Regions from separate parts of the Homo sapiens genome. Here regions 1 and 2 are each linked to region 3. Evidence: promoter capture Hi-C in 16 types of primary human blood cells and fetal thymus (Javierre and others, 2016). All regions are on one chromosome and are shown on one strand. The core of a region is centred on a gene start or on the middle of the fragment in contact, and the rest is flanking DNA. Distances in the headings are between cores, read along the strand shown. Region 1 overlaps SLC5A6 (solute carrier family 5 member 6). Region 2 has its middle 17 kb from the start of TCF23. Region 3 holds the start of DPYSL5 (dihydropyrimidinase like 5).

The links. The method cuts DNA at HindIII sites, captures the fragments that hold promoters and counts their contacts. A CHiCAGO score of 5 or more calls a contact.
Region 1: a contact is called between a fragment that was not itself captured here and the fragment with the promoter of DPYSL5 in region 3, in 1 of 17 cell types (megakaryocytes). The highest score is 5.5, in megakaryocytes.
Region 2: a fragment that was not itself captured here is called in contact with the fragment with the promoter of DPYSL5 in region 3 in 3 of 17 cell types (megakaryocytes, erythroblasts and endothelial precursors); the score reaches 5.5 in megakaryocytes.

What each region holds. Positions count from the first base shown.
Region 1 is chr2:27,198,675-27,201,606 of GRCh38, forward strand. SLC5A6 (solute carrier family 5 member 6) reads right to left here. Exons shown (of 17, transcript NM_021095.4): 15 at 2,676-2,779; 16 at 2,324-2,439; 17 at 913-1,905. The coding sequence ends at 1,762. Among named protein-coding and RNA genes, the nearest start is that of ATRAID, 12 kb to the right of the region's middle. The HindIII fragment of the contact is 6,317 bases long and covers 1-2,932 here.
Region 2 is chr2:27,164,602-27,167,882 of GRCh38, forward strand. No RefSeq gene overlaps it. Among named protein-coding and RNA genes, the nearest start is that of TCF23, 17 kb to the left of the region's middle. RefSeq lists an enhancer at 791-1,100. The HindIII fragment of the contact is 1,403 bases long and covers 1,162-2,564 here.
Region 3 is chr2:26,846,220-26,849,560 of GRCh38, forward strand. DPYSL5 (dihydropyrimidinase like 5) reads left to right here and starts at 1,913. Exons shown (of 13, transcript NM_020134.4): 1 at 1,913-2,035. The HindIII fragment of the contact is 4,603 bases long and covers 1-3,341 here.

The DNA of each region.
Region 1 (2,932 bases), core at 104-2,603, 350 kb after region 3:
CAGTGGACACACCTTTGGCCTGTCAAAGTACCTTCCCAGACTGAGAATAGATCATGACCAGACACCTGAAGTCCATACTGGAAGGAATGTTTATGTTCAAGACCAGAGCCTTGTGGAATGGAAAAAAAAATCCAGGGCAACAGGTTTAAGACCCATTAGGAGACAATATTGTCGTCATGAATATAAATGAGGCCTAGGCAGGTTGGGAGTAGCTAGTGTCTTGGCTCTGGCACAACCAGGCCCTGTTCCTCCACAGGGCTGGCCAGGGCAGAGGTGAAAGGGGCTGGGGTGTGACCGAGTGAGCTGGGGTAGAGGTAGAAAAAGGGACACAGAACATCCCAGGCCTAAGCTACATGGAGTATGAGAGAACAGCTGGAATGTGCTCTAGAAGCCCTGGGAGAAGGCCTCAGTTGAGGCTGAATTCAGATATGCCTGGGACCCGGTCTCTGTTAAGAGACCCCGGAGAGCTGGTGCAGAGCTGATGTGGGCAGCTGAACAGGGCCAGGCAGGGGCAGAGGCCAGGTGTGGGAGGGTGTGAGCACAGTGTTCTTCACAAGACCATAAAAGTCCAGCTAGAATGTTCCGTTTCTAAAATCAGATGGGAACATTCTTCCTCCAGTTCCAAAAGTAAAAATCTGAGAGCAAAAGGTTCTGGCAAAGGGAAAGTGGGGCCGGAGAAGGGACAGACTAAGTAAGCCCCAGGGGATGAGAAGCCCTAGGAGAGGGTGTGCATCTTCTACCATGGTGAGCACAACACTGTCCCCTGCAGACACAGGGACAGCAGGGACTTGAAGCCACAGCCCCCCTCCTCAGCACAGGAAGGTGACCTGTACATAGGATAGGACTCCTTATCCTCACCAGAGGATGCAGTAGGGTGGACAAGAGCAGGTGAAGACAGTACAGGAGCCCAAATTCTAGGTCCAATGGTAGTTTTTATTCCCCAGGAACAAAGATAATGTGGAGAAGAAACTCCAAAAGGAAACAGAGCACGGATGACAGAAATGACACCACGGCAGCCTGGCTCAGGAGTCAGGTAGATAGATGGCTGCTCCACAGTGGACCCGGTCATGGCCCTGGTTTCTTGGATCCACATTTGCCCCGTCTCTTAAGTGTCCATCTCAGAGGTGGAGGATGGAGACAGTGAGGTGGAAAACGTGCTTGCTCTACACAAAGACAAATGGATCTTCTATTCCCAGAGGACCAGGGACACCAAAACCTCCCTCTTCAGAATGGAGGTAGACAGATAAAAATGAGAGGGGCTTGAGTGTCACAGACAATCTGAAAGTAATAATAGGGGCTCACTGTGGCTGGCAGAACTGGTACTGAAATGGGGACTACAGGGGAAGCAGCTTCCAGTTTTATGGTGGAGAGTCAGTCCTGAATCAGGCCCTGGGGCAATTATAACCAGAGTGCTGTTTCTAGCCACTTACTTCAAAGGACTATGGCTATGTTGAATCAGAAGCCATTATCTTTTTCCCAGAGGATGCACTTCCATCCCTATTTCTGGCATGATCCTGCTCCCTACGAGCCTGATCCTTTAAAAAACAGATTGGCAAGCGACGAGAAAAACGGTGCCTCACATGCTTGAGATGTGACAGCTTCTCCTGCAGGCAAGAACCTCTCAGAACAAGGTCCTTTGGTATGAGCTAGATCATCCAGGCCTGTCCCTGCAGAACACACCAAGACTCATCCCTGTACTACAGGGTGGCCTCTGGCTATGGCCTGGCACAGTGAGGACAGAGGCGGGGTCCTGAGTCAACATCACAGGGAGGTCTCCTGGAGGATGCAGGTGGAGCTGCTCCCCTGATAGGCTGTGCCATCCAGGGCCATGGCCTCCTTGTCTCTGCTGTCCCCCAGCACACCATTCCTCGGCTTCTCAGGAAACAGGCCAGTGTCGAGGTGGTCCTGCAAACACAGAGCCAAAGGGGTGGAACTGGTGAAGACGGATGACGGGTGCTTGACAGGATTCACACAAAAAAGGTCCCCGCCAGAAGGGAGCCCAGCAAGGCTGGGTTCGGGAGGGAGAGCAGGGGGAAAAGAGGGAGGGCATAGCACAGCAGGGAGCACAGGGTGGGCTGGGGAGGGGAGCTGACTGGCCCAGGCTGGGGCTGAGCTCCTCTGAGCCCTGAGATCCTTCTGCCCACCAAGCCAGTGCAGTCCTGTGGGTAGAACCTGAGACAGCCGTGTGGGACAGCCTAGGCTTAGCTGATCCTGAGAGAGGCACCCGGGGCAGGGGGAGAGAAAAGGGGTAGAAGGGAACCTGAAGAGTCAGTGGCATCTGTGGAGAAGGGCAGGGAGGGGTCACTTGGACAGCAGGTACTACCTGGCCGTAGCTCCTGCAGTGGAGCCGCTTCTGACAGGACAACGGAAGGAGGGACAGGAGCTTTGGCAACACTGGGTAAATGGTTGCAGGGTTCAGGGACCGGCCTCGCATTCTCCCTGAATGGAAATGTGCTTCTGAGTCTCTGGGTGGAACCATCCACAGCAGCGGGCCCCATGTCCTCCCTTGGCCCCCAGAGACCCCAGCCCCCACCCACCTCCTACATCCCAGCAGAAAAGCCTGACAGCTACGGACACCCAAGAGCTCAGAGGGCAGGAGCCTTTCTCCCTAGAGTCCCTTAGGGCCCTCTGTTAACCCCTCGGTGCTCATCTGCACCGCAATCCCACACCCTTACCAGTGAGTAGACTGACAATCAGGCCCACCACAATCACTGTGGTGGAGTTGTGAGCACTGTACCATAAGTAAGACAAGGAATAGAACCGCTGCAGCCCTGTGGGCCTGGGAAGAGCAGAGGTGAGAACAATTAGCAATTCGTTGGCAGGGCATTCCTTGGGCACCAATCTCTACTTGCCCGCATGGTCCCAGGGTCTTGGGACCCAATACCCAACATTTCCCTGGGGCCTCTGGTGGCCCATCCCTTAGCAAGACCCC
Region 2 (3,281 bases), core at 613-3,112, 320 kb after region 3:
AGGCATGATGGCGGGCACCTGTAGTCCCAGCTACTCGGGAGGCTGAGGCAGGAGAATGGCGTGAACCCAGGAGGTGGAGGTTGCAGTGAGCCGAGATAGCACCACTGCACTCCAGCCTGGGCGACAGAGCGAGACTCTGCCTCAAAAAAAAAAAAAAAAAAAAAAGACATCACTCAATACATGTAAGATGTACATTGGTTCAGTCCAGAAAGGCAGGGCAACTAGAAGCTGGTGGAGGGCTTCTAGGTCTTAGGTAGATTTAAAGATTTTTTGATTGGCAATTGGTTGAAAGAGTTAAGTTACTGTCTAAAGACTTAGAAATGTCCAGGTTAAGATAAGGGGTTGTAGAGACCAAGGTTTTATGATACAGGTGAAGCCTCCAGGTCTCAGGCTTCAGAGAGAATAGATTGTAAATGTTCTTATCAGACTTAAAGAGTCTGTTCTATCAGTAAATCCAAAAGGGAGGAGGGTATCATGAGGCATGTCTGAACCCCCTTCCCATCATGGCCTGAACTAGTGTTTCAGGTTAACTTTGGAATGCCCTTTAGGGACAGGAGGAGTCCATTCAGATGACTGGGGGTTTAGACTTTTATTTTTGGTTTACAGTGGGAAGTGAGGTCCGACATGTCTTGTTATACCCCTCCTCCCTTTTGGTGTTTAGGCACAACTGACAAGCATTGTGGTTAAAACAGGGATTATAAGACTGGCAAAAGAGAGTATCTGTGGCAATAAGATACCAAATTTTGAACAACAATCTGTTAGGCACAAACAGTTTCTCTTCAAAAGTTTCAGTTCCTGGTTCTTTGTTCTATTCTGAAAGTAATGTTACCTGTCCATCTATCAGCCCTCCCTATCTCTGTTGCACCCAAACACGTCCAAGCATGTCCCATCACCTATGTGCCCGTCCTTCCCATCAAGTGCCCACCCTTGCCTCCTTCGATGATGTCAATACTAGCCAATCGGGATTAGCTTAGATCGTGCGGTCTGACTCCAGCCAACCGGGGGAGGACCCAGGAACAGGGTCTGCATTAGGGATAAAAATGCCTGCTCTCCTTTGTTCAGTGTGCTCCCTTGCCTCTGCCTTGCATGCAGGTAGCACCCTTCTATAGAAGTAAAATTTTGCCTTGCAGAGAAGTTATCTGAGTGCTCATTTCCTTTGCAAGCTTTATTTCCTGAGCTTTATTTCCAACAAATCTAATAACCAGGCAGAATTGGGGGAAAAATAGAATTTTCAGAAATTAAAAATATGATATTTTAATTAAAGACTCAATGAATGATTAGAAACTGCTAGAGGCCATGAAAGGCAAGGGTTAAATCATACCCAACAAACCATAAAATCTCATTAACTGGGTTTTTAAAATTAACGCAGTATACTGTGGCTTACTTTCCAACCTGACTGTGGCTTAGCACCACATGGCAGATTACAGGCCCTGAAGGAAATAAAAATATTTTACTCCAAAATGTATTTGTTTGGCATACTTTGAAATGGTCCTGCAAAGCTGTCTTTCGTGGGGGAAGTTTGTATCTGTAGAGAATCTCCACCACTGCAACCAGGTCTTCCTTTCTAGGCCTTTCCAAGATCTAGGAGAGATTAACTGAGAGGCTGACACTTTAAAAAATCTGAAAAGAGACATTTACCATCTATTCTTTCTGAGGGCTGGTCCCTGTGAGGCTTCATCTCCATAATAAGGGCCTTGGCACCCGTGACTCCCTTTTTTATTTGTCATTTTTGTTGTTGTTGTTTTTAGACAGAGTCTCACTGTGTTGCCCAAGCTAGAGTGCAGCGGCATGATCTTGGCTCACTGCAAACTCCACCTTTCAGGTTCAAGGGATTGTTGTGCCTCAGCCTCCCAAGTAGCTGGGATTACAGGCGTGCACCACCAGGCCCGGCTAATTTTTGTATTTTTAGTAGAGAGGGGGTTTCACCGTGTTGGCGAAGCTGGTCTTGAACTCCTGACCTCAAATGATCCACCCATGTCAACCTCCAAAAGTGCTGGGATTACAGGTGTGAGCCACCATGCTGCCCTGACCCTCTTACCTTAACACAAGCATTCTTTTCTACTGAATTCAAGTCTTTAAGCAATAGCTTAACTCTCTCAACCATCAACTAAAGAATTTCTAAAACCCACCCATGACTTGCAAGCTCCCACTTCAAGATGTCCCAACTTTTCAGGCCAAACCAATGTATACCTTTTATGTATTGATTTATATCTTTGCCTGTAACTCCTGTCCCTCTAAAATGTGTAAAACCAAAGTGTAACCTGACTCCTCAGGCACACTTTCTCAGGACCTCTTGAGACTATTCCCCTGGCCATGGTCACTCATATGGGCTCAGAATAAACTTCTTTAATATATTTCACAGAGTTTGGTTTTTCTGTTTACAAGCCAATACCCAGGCTATATGTGAGGCTGGGGGCTCTTTGCTTTTTCTCTTTTGGATTCTGTTTCTGGGAATTTTTTTTAGTTGATTGACACCTCTTACAAAAAAAAAAGTTTGATCCCTCTGCTTTCTGGTTGGCATGATTTTGCTGATGAAAATGTAAAACTTAATTGGCTTTTTAGAAAGCTTAAAACCTCCCCAAATTGGCTCCTCTAAGATTTGTTCTTCCATTTCCTGCCACTTCTGGTCCTCTATAACCCACACTCTATAGCTCAACACTGTACAGCCAATCATTAATCAATGTTATTTCTGTAAACCAATGAGAATTCCTGACAAACAACTTTGTATCAGCCCACTCCTTGTCCTCTTTTTTGCCTTTAAAAACCTGCTTGTAACAAAGGCCCAAGCCTCCACCCATTTCTGACACTATGGTAGACTAGATGTTCAGAGAAACTCTCCTGGTACAGAAACTCAAAATGATGGCTAAAATCGTAAAAACATATTCTTAAAAGTATTGCTTGCCTGGCAGAAAAGTAAGGGAAAAGAATAAGAGAAAGAATAAGGAAGCATGTAGCAAAAAATGGTAAGCCAGCACTCAAGTCAGTGCTGCCTTTGCAATATCTGCAAATTCCTGGTGCCCAAGGCCTGGGTCTTACGGGCCACACCTGGGGACAGGAGACAACACCTAGGGCCCATTCGAAATGGGAAGTTGGATCAGAGACTCTGTCACAAAGTTGGGATCCTCAAAAGGCAACACCCTCAGTAAGGATGTTTTGTTGTGGGGGAGGCCAAAATTTTAAAGTGGTCACGATTTAGTAGTGTTTCCTGGCACAAGCAGGTGCAAACCTTCTCTGGAGGAACACGTTTTAAATTCATGCAGTGGCCAGGCACGGCCACTCAC
Region 3 (3,341 bases), core at 663-3,162:
CGGGACTCCCAGCTCTGTGCTCTTTCTACTTCCCAGGAAACGGAGCCTAAGTTAGCAACAACAAACCGAAGTCGAGGACTGAGGACATATGCAACCCCCGGTTTGGGTGCAACCTTTATCAATATCCTAAACTGACAGATGACGTAGAGGCAGCCGTTTCGCTGACTAGGGAAGGTAGCCCAAGAAAGCTAAGATGCTAGAATCCAAATTTAAGGTCTACGAGACGCTGCAGAAAACATTTACAGTCACTAGAGGGCTCTCTCTCCCTTAAGCAAAAAGCGCAGCACCGCCCGCGCGCGGTAGTCTCGGAACCCCGCCGCCGGGAGGCCGCTGGCAGCTCCACGCCACCTCCCTGAAGCCCAGTCCATTTTGCCTACATCCCTGTCCGGGCAAGCCCTGGAGAATCCATAGGGCAGTGCCCCAAGCTGGAGCAGTTTTCACAGCCACATCCCGGGCTGCACTGGGTTAGGGATGCTTTGAGGTTCCTCTGGGGGCTCCCTGCTCTCTGCTTACCAAGCAGGCGGGAGTTGGGAAGGGGAGAAGGAGTGCAGACTCAGGGGTGGGGTAATCCAGAAATGCATCCCTCAAAGGCCAGCCTGGCCTGGTCCAGGCCCTAAGCTCTCTGGGGAAGGACGGCAGGGAACCCCGCCTTGGCGGGCTCTGCGGGTCCTGCGCCCGGGTAGATTTTGCTGAGATGGGGAGAGGGGACCCCCTCCACGCCCCCGGAGTAGTGAACACCATTTTGTTTGAAAGTATCCTGCAAAGAGAACCACCTCACGAGGCCATGGCTGCCAGGGGACTCCTCTCCCCACCGGATCGCCGGGGAGCCCGGGGAGGGAGGGATTCTGCAGCTGCAGCTTGGAGGTCCTTGATGCTGCATTTTAACGCGCATCGCAACGCCTTTGGAGTGACATTAAGTGCAAAGAGGCAAATGACTAATCCAAACTATTATTACAACTGCAGAAAATAACACAGATCAATGGCAAAGGCTTGAACCGGGATTAGCTAGGGAGGTGGGACAAACCGGGGATGATCCTTCCTCTCCTTTTTTAGATTTGTTTATTTTGGTAAATTATGTATGTATTTAAACATGAAGAAACAGGTGAAGCGAATGTAAATTGGGTTATAAATAATTTCCAAAGGCTTCGCTGTCCCTTGACAGAAGCCAGAAATAAGACAGGCACTGGGCCTGAGCGCTCTGGACAGGGAAGCACCCGCGTGGCGCTGGGCAAAATCTTCTCAGTGGAGAGAACGCACTCCGGGTTCGAGACCTCCCCGGGTGCAGATGCGAACTGCGGTGGCCCCAAGTGGCCGTCCACTTTGTTCATGAGAACAGTTTTCCTATAACGCCCACCCGGCCCTTTGCATCCCGCAATCCCGCGGGCGTCGGAGCGGGTCTTGGCGCGAACCAGGCGGCCTCGGCGGGGTCCTGCGGCGGAGGGCAGCGCGGCCGCAGCCCGGGAGAGGCGGCCGCGGCATTGTTTCAGCCCCTGGGGTGGGATCCAGCTGGGGGAGGGGAGGCGGGGTGTCCTCCGGAACCGCCCCCGGCCCTCCCTGGGGACCCGTGCCTCAGCGCGTCCAGGCTTTGTGGTGTCCTGAGTCGCCATGGAAACCCGAGGGAACGCGGAGCCGGGTGCTAGGGGGGTCGGTGAGTTCTCCGGCCGCGCCCTCCGTCCGCTCTCGGACCCCGGCCCTGCAGCAGGGCCTGCCGGGAGTTGTAGTCCCCAGGCGGCGGCGGCGCGCGGCGCCAAGGATGCGGGACGCCGCCTGTCCCCGCCTCCCCTTAACCTGCTAGCTGAGGTGGGGAGCGGCGGGAGGAGCCGGCCGCGCGGTGATTGGCGGAGGCCGCTCCCAGCCCCCGACACGCGCCCCTCCCCCGCTCCCCACTCTGGACTCCCGCGCTGGGCGCGCTGAGGCGGCCCCCGAGCGAGCGCGCGTGCAGCCGCCGCCGCCCCGAGCACCCGCAGCTCCGGCGCCGCGGCGAGACGGAGACGGACCGAGCCACGGGCCCCCGCGGCCGCAGCATCTCGGAGGAGTGGGTGATGGCAGGGGGGTCGGTGGGCTTACCCCTCCCGGGCTAGGACATCCTCCTCTCCCCCTTCTGTTTCTGCGTGAGGCGCACAAAAGGGCGGGGAGCCGGGTGAGCCTGGGGCCCGGCCGCAGGGGACGCGGCGGGAGGTGTGGTTTGGGGTTGGGAGGTGGCCATCGGGGCTAAGCCGGGGCGCTCTTGGGGTCCTCTTTGTACGCCCGCGAAGCGCCGTGCCGGGCCTTGCTCATAGTAAGCGTTTAATGCGTGCTCGCGGGGTTGCAAAGCCCTGGGGTGAGGAGGCGGCTCGGCCGAGGGGTTTCGCGCCTAGCACGCAGTGGGCCGCTTTCCTAGCCGGGCGCGGTGCAGTGGACCGCTGGAGGGCTGGGCGGGGGCGCCTCTGGCCGGGGGCCAGTCCTGCCGGTCCCAGGATCTGCGCTGTCCCCGGTCCCACACACCACCCAGATACACACCCTCCGTCCTTCTCGCCTCCGAGCTGGGATCTGCCCAGCCTGGACCCGACCCGGCGGTCTGTTCCACCGCCCGGCTAACGGAGCGGACGCCTGCAGAGGACTCGCCCGCCGCCTCCGAGCCTCCCGCCTGAGCCACAAAGGCCTCCTGCGGCTGCCCAGCCCGGAGCGGGCGCCGAGCCGGGTCCCTCGGCTGGAGCCCAGCGCGGGAGCCCGCCTTGCAGCATCGATCTCAGCGGGCACCGACGTCGACGCCCCGGGCCTGGGGACGGGGCTGTAGTCTGAGCTGGAGAGAAGCCGGGAGAGGGCGAGGGGAGGCCTCGGTTGAGAAAAGATGGGGATGGGGAAGGCTGGGGAGCTGGGTTAGGACAGGTAGTGGGTCTCGGGGAGCAGGGAGTGGGAACTAGGGTTTGAGGAGGAAAGAGAAGGGGCGGGGGCGGGTCCGAAGAACGAGGGAAGGAGCTCGGTGCAGGTGGCGCCCGGCGAGGCTGGTTCTGCTGAAGAATGGGGAGGGGAGGAGGGATGCAGGCGGGTGGAGGCCGCCTGGGTTTGAGGAGGGAGGACGGGAGCGAGGAGAAGACCCGCGCTGTGCGGGGGAGGGGGGCCTCCTGGGAAGGGGAGCCTCCCGAGGAGGGAGGGGCAAGCAGCTGAGAGGCGGTCTCGGGCCCGAGGATCCTCAGCTCCAGGCGCGGGGCCCCGCGGCCCAGGTGGCCGGCTGGGCGTGGCCCTCGGACCGGGGTTAGGGACCCAGGATGGCAGATCCGGGACCGGGCTGGGCTGGCTTGGTGAGGAGCTTTGTCTCCAGGCTTGAAACCAGCCGGTAGCGACTCGCTTAGGGTTTTGTG